2 separate regions of the Homo sapiens genome follow, and region 2 is linked to region 1. The links are contacts of gene promoters, found by promoter capture Hi-C in human tissues and cell types (Jung and others, 2019). All regions are on one chromosome and are shown on one strand. The core of a region is centred on a gene start or on the middle of the fragment in contact, and the rest is flanking DNA. Distances in the headings are between cores, read along the strand shown.

What was found. Contacts are between HindIII fragments. The study calls those that stand out against the background at their distance.
Region 2: a fragment that was not itself captured here is called in contact with the fragment with the promoter of LFNG in region 1 in 2 of the 25 tissues and cell types used here (lymphoblastoid cells and spleen).

Annotation. Positions count from the first base shown.
Region 1 is chr7:2,518,524-2,522,698 of GRCh38, forward strand. It overlaps LFNG (LFNG O-fucosylpeptide 3-beta-N-acetylglucosaminyltransferase), which reads left to right and starts at 1,251. Exons shown (of 8, transcript NM_001040167.2): 1 at 1,251-1,770. The coding sequence starts at 1,339. RefSeq lists silencers at 777-1,306, 1,317-1,426 and enhancers at 3,358-3,487, 3,528-3,587. The HindIII fragment of the contact is 23,923 bases long and covers 1-4,175 here.
Region 2 is chr7:2,425,037-2,429,211 of GRCh38, forward strand. The region is part of intron 1 of CHST12 (carbohydrate sulfotransferase 12); the gene reads left to right. Among named protein-coding and RNA genes, the nearest start is that of CHST12, 24 kb to the left of the region's middle. The HindIII fragment of the contact is 4,686 bases long and covers 81-4,175 here.

The DNA of each region.
Region 1 (4,175 bases), core at 1-2,500:
ACTATGTCCCAAAACCTGTTCCAGGTCTGAATGACACCAGGTCGCTGCTGTCTTGCGGCTGACATTCAGGTAGAGGTAAGGAGAGGGGCTCCAAGGGCACTTAAAGAATTTAAAATGCCATCTCAGGCGTGAACATAACTCCGAGGGGGGCAGTTTAGCCACGGTGGTGGCGGTGGTGGTCGTGGTGGTCGCAGAGACCCTGCTTAGGAGGGCACGGGAAGACAGCGCAGCCACGGGCAGAGCCGCCTCCGTCCACGCTTCCGGAGGACGTGGCGGGCAGGGGGCTCACACCCTGCTCAGGCGACCCTTGGCCACTTCCGGGCCCCTCGCCCCTCACCCTCGGCTGCCGGCGCGCATTCCTGCCGCCCCCGCTCGTGCGAGGGGCGGGCCCGGGCCCGTGGGAAGGGCCGGGGATGGGGGCCGTGTGCCGGGGAGGCGGGGTGGGGAGGGCGCACAGCTGGGCCGCATCTGGCCCGAGCGCAAGGAGACCAAATGGGACAGAAGGCGGCCTTTCATCCGGCGAGGGAAGTGGCGGCCTTCGTTTCTCCTCGCCATGGGGCGCCTGAGGATTTCGGGGAGCCAACCCTCCCGACGGAGGGCCAGGATCGAGGAAATCAGCCAGGGAGGAAGGAGTGGAATTTGGTTCTGGTGCTTTCTCGTTAGAACCTCGTGTCCCCACCTGCGGCACAGGTGGCCAAGCTCTTGCTCTGTACAAATAACGGCTCCCCTGAACCGAGCGCTCGGGAAGACCCAGGCGCCACCCCAGTTTGCAAGGCCTGCCGCGTCCCAAGGGGAGGAAGCCGTGCTCAGGAGGGGAAGCGCACAGCGAGGAAGTAGGATGTCCCCCGCGGTGCGTCGGAGCCCAGAGCCCGGGTCTCAGCACCCTGCCCGCTGCGCCGAGGGCGCGCCCCTCCCGTGCCGGGACGCCCGGTGCATCCCCGGACGGCGCTGGCCAGGCTGGGTTTCCTCTTCAGGGACACCGGCGCGGGCCGGGCCCGTCCCCAAGCCCCTCGGCGGCCCGCAGGGGCTACCCGGGGCGGGGGGGGTGCGGGGCGTGCACGTGCGCGCCGGGGGCGGGGCCGCTGCGCCCTCTGGGCAGTTCCCAGCCCCCAGCCGCGGCCCCACGTGGGTCTGCGGGCGTGGAGCGGCGACCGGCGCGAGGCCCCGCCCCCGAGCCCGGGAGCCAATGAGCGCACGGGGGCGGGACCGGGGCGGGGAGGTTTAAGAGCGCGGGACACTGGTGCTGCGCTGCTGGACTGCGCCGCCGGAGCGACGGGCTTCGGGTCGGTGCAAGGCAGGCGCACGGGGAAGGGCGCGCCGCGCGGCCGCCACCCCACCATGCTCAAGCGCTGCGGCCGGCGCCTGCTGCTGGCGCTGGCGGGCGCGCTGCTCGCCTGCCTGCTGGTGCTCACCGCCGACCCGCCGCCGCCTCCACTGCCCGCCGAGCGCGGCCGGCGCGCGCTGCGCAGCCTGGCGGGCCCCGCGGGGGCTGCCCCGGCGCCCGGGCTGGGGGCGGCGGCGGCGGCGCCCGGGGCGCTGGTCCGCGACGTGCACAGTCTGTCCGAGTACTTCAGCCTGCTCACCCGCGCGCGCAGAGATGCGGGCCCGCCGCCCGGGGCTGCCCCCCGCCCCGCCGACGGCCACCCGCGCCCCCTGGCCGAGCCGCTCGCGCCCCGAGACGTCTTCATCGCTGTCAAGACCACCAAAAAGTTCCACCGCGCGCGCCTCGACCTGCTGCTGGAGACCTGGATCTCGCGCCACAAGGAGATGGTGAGCCCCCCGCGGCCTGGACTGGCGGGCGAGCGGGGCGGGGACCCACCATCTGGTCCAGCTGGTGGCAGTGTCCCATGGGAGTCAGGCTGCATCCCCATCCAGCCACTAGGGCCATCTGTGGGCGACGCCAGTGCACCCCGGTGCACCCAGTTTGCCTGCTGGGGCCACTCTCCCGTTACAGTTGTGTTACTGTCCCCGGGGCCCCGCCTCCTGTCCAGCTCCAGAGTCCTGGATGGCTGCAGGACCCTACACCAGTCTCCAGTGCTTGGGGTTGGTGCCCTGTGATACTTCTCACCCCGTAAACATTGGAGCGCATTCATAGGGCATTATGTCCTCAAACTTCCACAAGCAAATTCTGTTCGGACCCACCCTCAGCTCAGACCCCTTCCTGGGGAGAAAGGCTCTTCCTTTAGAGAAGTGAGGGGTTCTGACCTCTGGGCCCTTTCCTCATCACAGTGTTAAGGTACGGGGAGGGAGGGAAGTCATTGCTGGTTGGTGGGTCCTGGGGAGTACATCTCAAAGAACTCCAGGTTTTGGGGTCTGTGTGGGGACCCTCCCCGCACAGTGCAGTAGTCTCTGAGGCCTGCAACCTTGGGCACAGCCCACTTCAGTTGGGCATCAGCTTCTTACACACACATAATTAAGACACACCCCACTTTGAACATTTCCCTCGAGGCCACAGCAGGACGGTTGGGCTGGGGCGGGATGGGGACAGTGTGTGGGGCTTGCAGTCGGGGACTGGGGGGGTGTCTCTGGGCTGGGAGATGCAGAGGCATTTGCTGTGAGGGTGGGGGCTCAGGGAAGACCCTGCACGCCTTCCTCCCTGCTCAAACCCCGGAGACCCAGGGCCTTCTGACCTGGCGCTGTCCTGTTTTGGGGCACTGTGGGTGGGTGGGAGCAGGGCTTGGTGAGGTCATGAGGGCGACGGGGAGGGGCAGGGTCCTCCCTGGTCCTGGCGTGGGGAAGGGGCCCTGGGAACCCCATGGCAGCCTCCTGGGAACACAGCGTCCCATTCCCAGGGGCTCAGCGGGCTGGCGGGAGGGGGCGGCGGGGGCCGTGGGTTTTGTTTGGCGGCCGGGCCGTTAGGATTCCCAGCGCCGGGCGGCTCTCACGCCGGCCCCTTGGGCAAGGTAACAAAGCCCCTTTCTCCAGCGAGAAAGGCGTCGGGCCCCTTGTGTGCAGCTACGCGCTCCGTGGGAACCGCTGCTGGCGTGCTGGCCACTCAGGTTGCCTGGCGATGAGGGGACCAGCGGGCCCCCCCAGCATCTCTTACTGACAGTCCTTTTGGGGCACCATCCCTGAGCCTGGCCCCCCCACCCCCAGCACTCAAGCCTTACTGCTATGTGATCTTGGGCATCCTTCAGCCCCACTCTGGGCTACCACCAGCTCTGAGCACCTCTCATCTTGGAATTTGGGGCCTTTCTCCAACAGAGGGGATGTGGTCAGAGGGCTGGGCTGTGTGATCCTGAGCAAGACCTGGGGCCTCTCAGACCCTCACTCTGATCTCTGAAATGGGGGAACATGGTCCTTCCAGGAGCACGTTGTAAGAGACTGGCAAAGCCTGCAGGCATGGGGTGAACCCGGCGGGCACTCAGGGTCGAGGTGGGGGCCATCACTCCCTTGAGCCCTGAGGTCCCTACTGGAGGGTCACCCCACCAGGGGACAGGTTGAATCTGCCCTCAGCATCAGTTCACCAGCACACAGCAAGCAAAGACCCCCTTGTGGTGGGTGATGGGCAGGGGTCCTGGAAACCCACAGAAGAGGGCCCCCCTCTCCCAGCCCTGCACGGAATGACTCAGACATGGTCTGATGGGGGAGATAGAAAGATGTCAGGGCTGTGCGGGGGGAAAACCCCGAGAGGCTGTGTGAGGCAACAGTGGGCATCTGACCCACATGCTGGGGGAAGGGAGGGAGGAGGGAAGACTTCCTGGAGGAGGCGCCATTTGAGCTAGACTAAGAGTAAAAAAGTGCCCAGAAAGGGCACTCCATCCGGGCATGGTGATGACCACAGCATGGGGGTTGTGCAGGAAACTTCTAGCAACTGGAGTGGTGGCTGGGGGGAGGGTCGGTTGGTCAGCAGGGGCCGCGCTGAGATGGGCCTGGAGTCCAGGATGAAGAGCCTGGCCTTTGGCCCAGAGGTTCCCCGCCCCTCCCAGGAGCAGCCAGGCTGCCGCGCTGCCACCACAGCGGCCACAATTGCTGGGGAGAACTTGGCATCCTGTGTTTCTTTGAATCGCGGCTCCAGGAACAATGCTGCTTCCTGTGGGTGTCCCCCGGCCCCCGCCCCCGTCCACCCTCATCCACCCGGCTCTTCCTCCTGCAGCCCCGTCTTCGTCTGGAAAGTTAGGTGGCACTGGGGGGTCTGGGTCCCTAGAAGGCAGGGACTGGGCTGGTCTAGCACC
Region 2 (4,175 bases), core at 1,174-3,673, 92 kb before region 1:
CTCTACTAAAAATACAAAAATTAGCCAGGTGTGGTGGCGGGCGCCTGTAGTCCCAGCTACTCGGGAGGCTGAGGCAGAAAATCGCATGAACCCGGGAGGCAGAGATTGCAGTGAGCCGAGATTGCACCACTGCACTCCAGCCTGGTGACAGAGCAAGACTCCGTCTCAAAAAAAAAAAAAAAACAACAAACAAAAAAAAAACGTAAAAAAACAAACCCCGGCCCAGTGAGGACCGCGCTTAGTCAGCATGTCGGTCAAGACAGGTGTGGACACAACCACAGTGCAGACAAGGGTGAGTGCCAGGAGAGAGGGGTCCAGACTGTTGGGCTCTTCCAGAAACCCCAGACCAGGTCATAGCCACTGAAAATGGATATATTTCATATTCACCTTTTACCCTCCACCCCCAAAAGGGCCTATGAGATGGCCCTGCTCAAACATCTAGAAAGAAAGAGATAGGATCTGGCCTCTGACGGAGATGAGTGCCTCTGGGGATCCATGCCCTGTGGCCACCATTGTTTCTGGATGTGGCTGAGGTCACAGGACTGTTGTGAGCACAGGTGGTGAGTCACCTGTAAGGCCCACACGCGGGACAGGTGCAGGGGGCCCACATCTGCAGATGTGTGTGTGTTCAAATGCAAAATAGCACTGCATTTGCTTTTTTTTTTTTTTGTCTTTTGTCAAGCTTGTCCCTTTTCCTCTTGTATCCAACTTGCAGGTCTTCTCCCATGCTGTCTATTTGATCTTTATTTTTTTGGGTGGAGAACTTACCACTTATCCCACTATACGTTTCCATCTCTTATTTATTTTCAGCTTTACTTCTCGTCTTTCCAGGGTGTCATCTTTCTGAATGCAGATTCTGGGGAGTCTGCACTCTGGTGGTGGCAGCACAGGTGCCAGGGGTCAGGGGTTAGACGCTCTGGGGGAAGGGCCTGGCAGAAGGCAGTAAGCTGGAGGGAGAGACAGGCTGGGGACGACGGGGCTCGCTAGATCAGCAGGGGACCTCTTTGGGGGACCTGCATAGTCCGGGATGGGAGTAGGTAGATGGGCATCGTGCGAAGGGACTGCCAGTGAGAAGAGGGCAGCTGGCTGTGGGGACGAATATTCAGGGGGCTGGGACTCATTTCTGTAAAGGAACCAACGTCCTTAGCAAGAAGCCAAGGCAGGAAGGTGGCCCAGGGTTGCCCCAGGATAGGACCTGGCATGGAACCTCAGGGGCTTGGTCACAAGGGGCTTCAGAGCCAGGCTGATGTGATGGGGGCCTCTGAGCCTGAGATTCACTCGGTATTGACTGCACCCTACCATGTGCATGCACGTGGTGAGCACAACCAGACGGAGCCCACCCTCCCCAGCTATGTGAGTGAGAGCGGGAGTAATTAAACATACACACCCCAAATAAGCACACAGTTGCTGATGGGACCTATGGAGAGTGCATAGTCTGGGATTTGACCCAACTGGGAAAGACTTCGCTGAGCTGGGGATGAGTAGGTGTCTACTGATGACGGGGCAGGGGCGGGTAGACAGATGTCCTTGCCTTGTTCATGATCTTGGTGGTAAGGTACTCACTCTTGCACCCTTAATTATGAGGTTAGCTGTAGGTTTTTTTTTTTAAAGCACTCAGATTGTTGCTAATATTAAAAAAATATAACATACAAGAGTGACAGGAGAGACATACAGTCCGGGTGTGGTGGCTTATGCCTGTAATCCCAGCACTTTGGAGGCCGAGGAAGGTGGATCACTTGAGGTCAGGAGTTCAAGACCAGCCTGGCCAACATGGTGGAGCTCCATCCCTACTAAAAATACAAAAATTAGCCGGGTGTCAGGGTGGGCACCTGTAATCCTAGCTGCCTGGGAGGCTGAGGCATGAGAATCACTTGAACCTGGGAGGCGGAGGTTGCAGTGAGCCAAGATCATGCCACTGCACTCCAGCCTGGGTGACACAGCGAGACCCTGTCTCACAAAAGAAAAAGAGAGAGAGAGAGAGACATATAAATGAAAAAGTACTCAGTTTAAGAAATTTGTAGCACTTTGCAAGGCCGAGGTGGCCAGGCTGAGGCATGAGAATCACTTGAACCCGGGAGGCGGAGGTTGCAGTGAGCCAAGATCATGCCACTGCACTCCGGCCTGGGTGACACAGCGAGACCCTGTCTCACAAAAGAAAAAAGAGAGAGAGAGAGACATACAAATGTAAAAATACTCAGTTTAAGAAATTCATAGCACTTTGCGAGGCCGAGGTGGCCAGCTTGCTAGAGCCCAGGAGTTCAAGACCAGCCGGGTTAACATGGTGAGACCACAACTCTATAAAAAATTTTTAAAAATTAGCCCGGCCCAGTGGTGTGTATCTGCAGTCCCAGCTACTTGGAAGGCTGAGACGGGAGGATCACTTGAGCCTAGGAGGTCAAGGCTGCAGTGAGCTGTGATTGTGCCACTGCACTCCAGCTTAGGTGACAGAGCAAGGCTCTGTCTTGAAAAAAAAAAAAAAAAGTTTACACATTTGTTTGAAGATGAAAAGTTCAACACAGTTTGGGCCTTCCATCTGCCACCCCCCCCTACAGAGATGATAGAAAAATGGTACAGCTGTAGGGTGTTTGTAGATGCCCTATAAGTTGAGGATATCCTCTTTGCTAAGTTTGCTGAGAGTGTTTATAATGAATGGATATGGGTTTTGTTGTTCCTTCCTGTAGGAGTTGATTTTTTAGCTTGTTAATATGATAGATTACATGGTTGATTTTTGAACATTGAGCCGTTCTTGCATACCCTACTTGGTCATGCCGTGACTCCTTTTTGTTTGTTTGTTTTTTGAGATGGAGTCTTGCTCTGTCACCCAGGCTGGAGTGCAGTGGTGCGATCTCGGCTCACTGCAACCGCCACCTCCCAGATTCAAGCGATTCTCCTGCCTCAGCCTCCCGAGTAGCTGGGACTACAGGCACCCGTCACCATGGCCAGCTAATTTTTTGTATTTTTAGTAGAGACGGGGTTTCACCGTGTTTGGATCTCCTGACCTCGTGATCCACCCACCTCGGCCTCCCAAAGTGCTGGGGTTACAGGCGTGAGTCACTATGCTGTGATTCTTTCTATACACTGCTGGATTTGGTTTATTAATATTTTGAGCATTTTTGCATCCAAGTTCATAAGTGATATTGGCCTGTAGCTTTCTCTCTCTCTTTTTTTTTTTTTTTGAGACAGAGTCTTGCTCTATCACCCAGGCTGGAGTGCAGTGGCACAATCTCGGCTCACTGCAAGCTCTGCCTCTCGGGTTCAAGTGATTTTCCTGCCTCAGCCTCCTGAGTATCTGGGATTACAGGCGTCCACCACCATGCCCAGCTAATTTTTTGTATTTTTTAGTAGAGACGGTATTGTGGGATCTGGCCAGAAGCCCACAATGCAACGGGGCTCTTTTATTTGTTCCCAGGCGGATCAGCAGGTCGAGAAATAATAGACACACACAAGACAGTGAAAGCTGGGTCCGGGGGGTGACCGCCTTCTGGTCCTGCGATGCCGCCAATGCACTGGATATACCAGCATTTATTATTAAGTTTAGTGAGGGCGGGGGTAGGTTAGTGAGGGATTTAGGGTCATTTGATTATGAGGTGAGATGGTCACATGGGGATGAAGTAATTCTTTAACATAACATCTGTATGCAGAAGTACAGTATACAGAGATAAGAATTTACAATATAGCATGTGCATCAGTAATTTCTAACAGCCTTAAAACAGAAACACAGGCTTTCCATAACCTATGATTAGCAAGATATTAATCAGCAGTAATAGTTGCAGCAAAAGCTGGTTACAAACAATCCATAGAAACAGGACGTGAAGCTAGACAGCCAGTTAGACCAGAAATTCTCAGAAGGGAGTATGCCTTAACCCTAAAGAGGCCTAGAAGAGCCGTGGCAAGATGAGGGCGTTTATAGCACTATCTTATCCATATGGACAGGCGCCCCCCATGCGTCCGTTTGTAGGCTCTCCACAAGGGTCGCATTCCATTCCCAGAGCTATGAACATCTGCTTTTCTGGGATAGGAATCTTGGTGATGTGAAAGCTCCCTGACTGCATGTCCGTTCATAGGCTCTCTGCAGGGGGAAGCATATCACGTGCTGTTGGCTCATTCTGACAGTCCAACCTGGCATTGTCTTTACACAATCCTGAATGCAACTTTGTATTTACAGTAATCAGGAG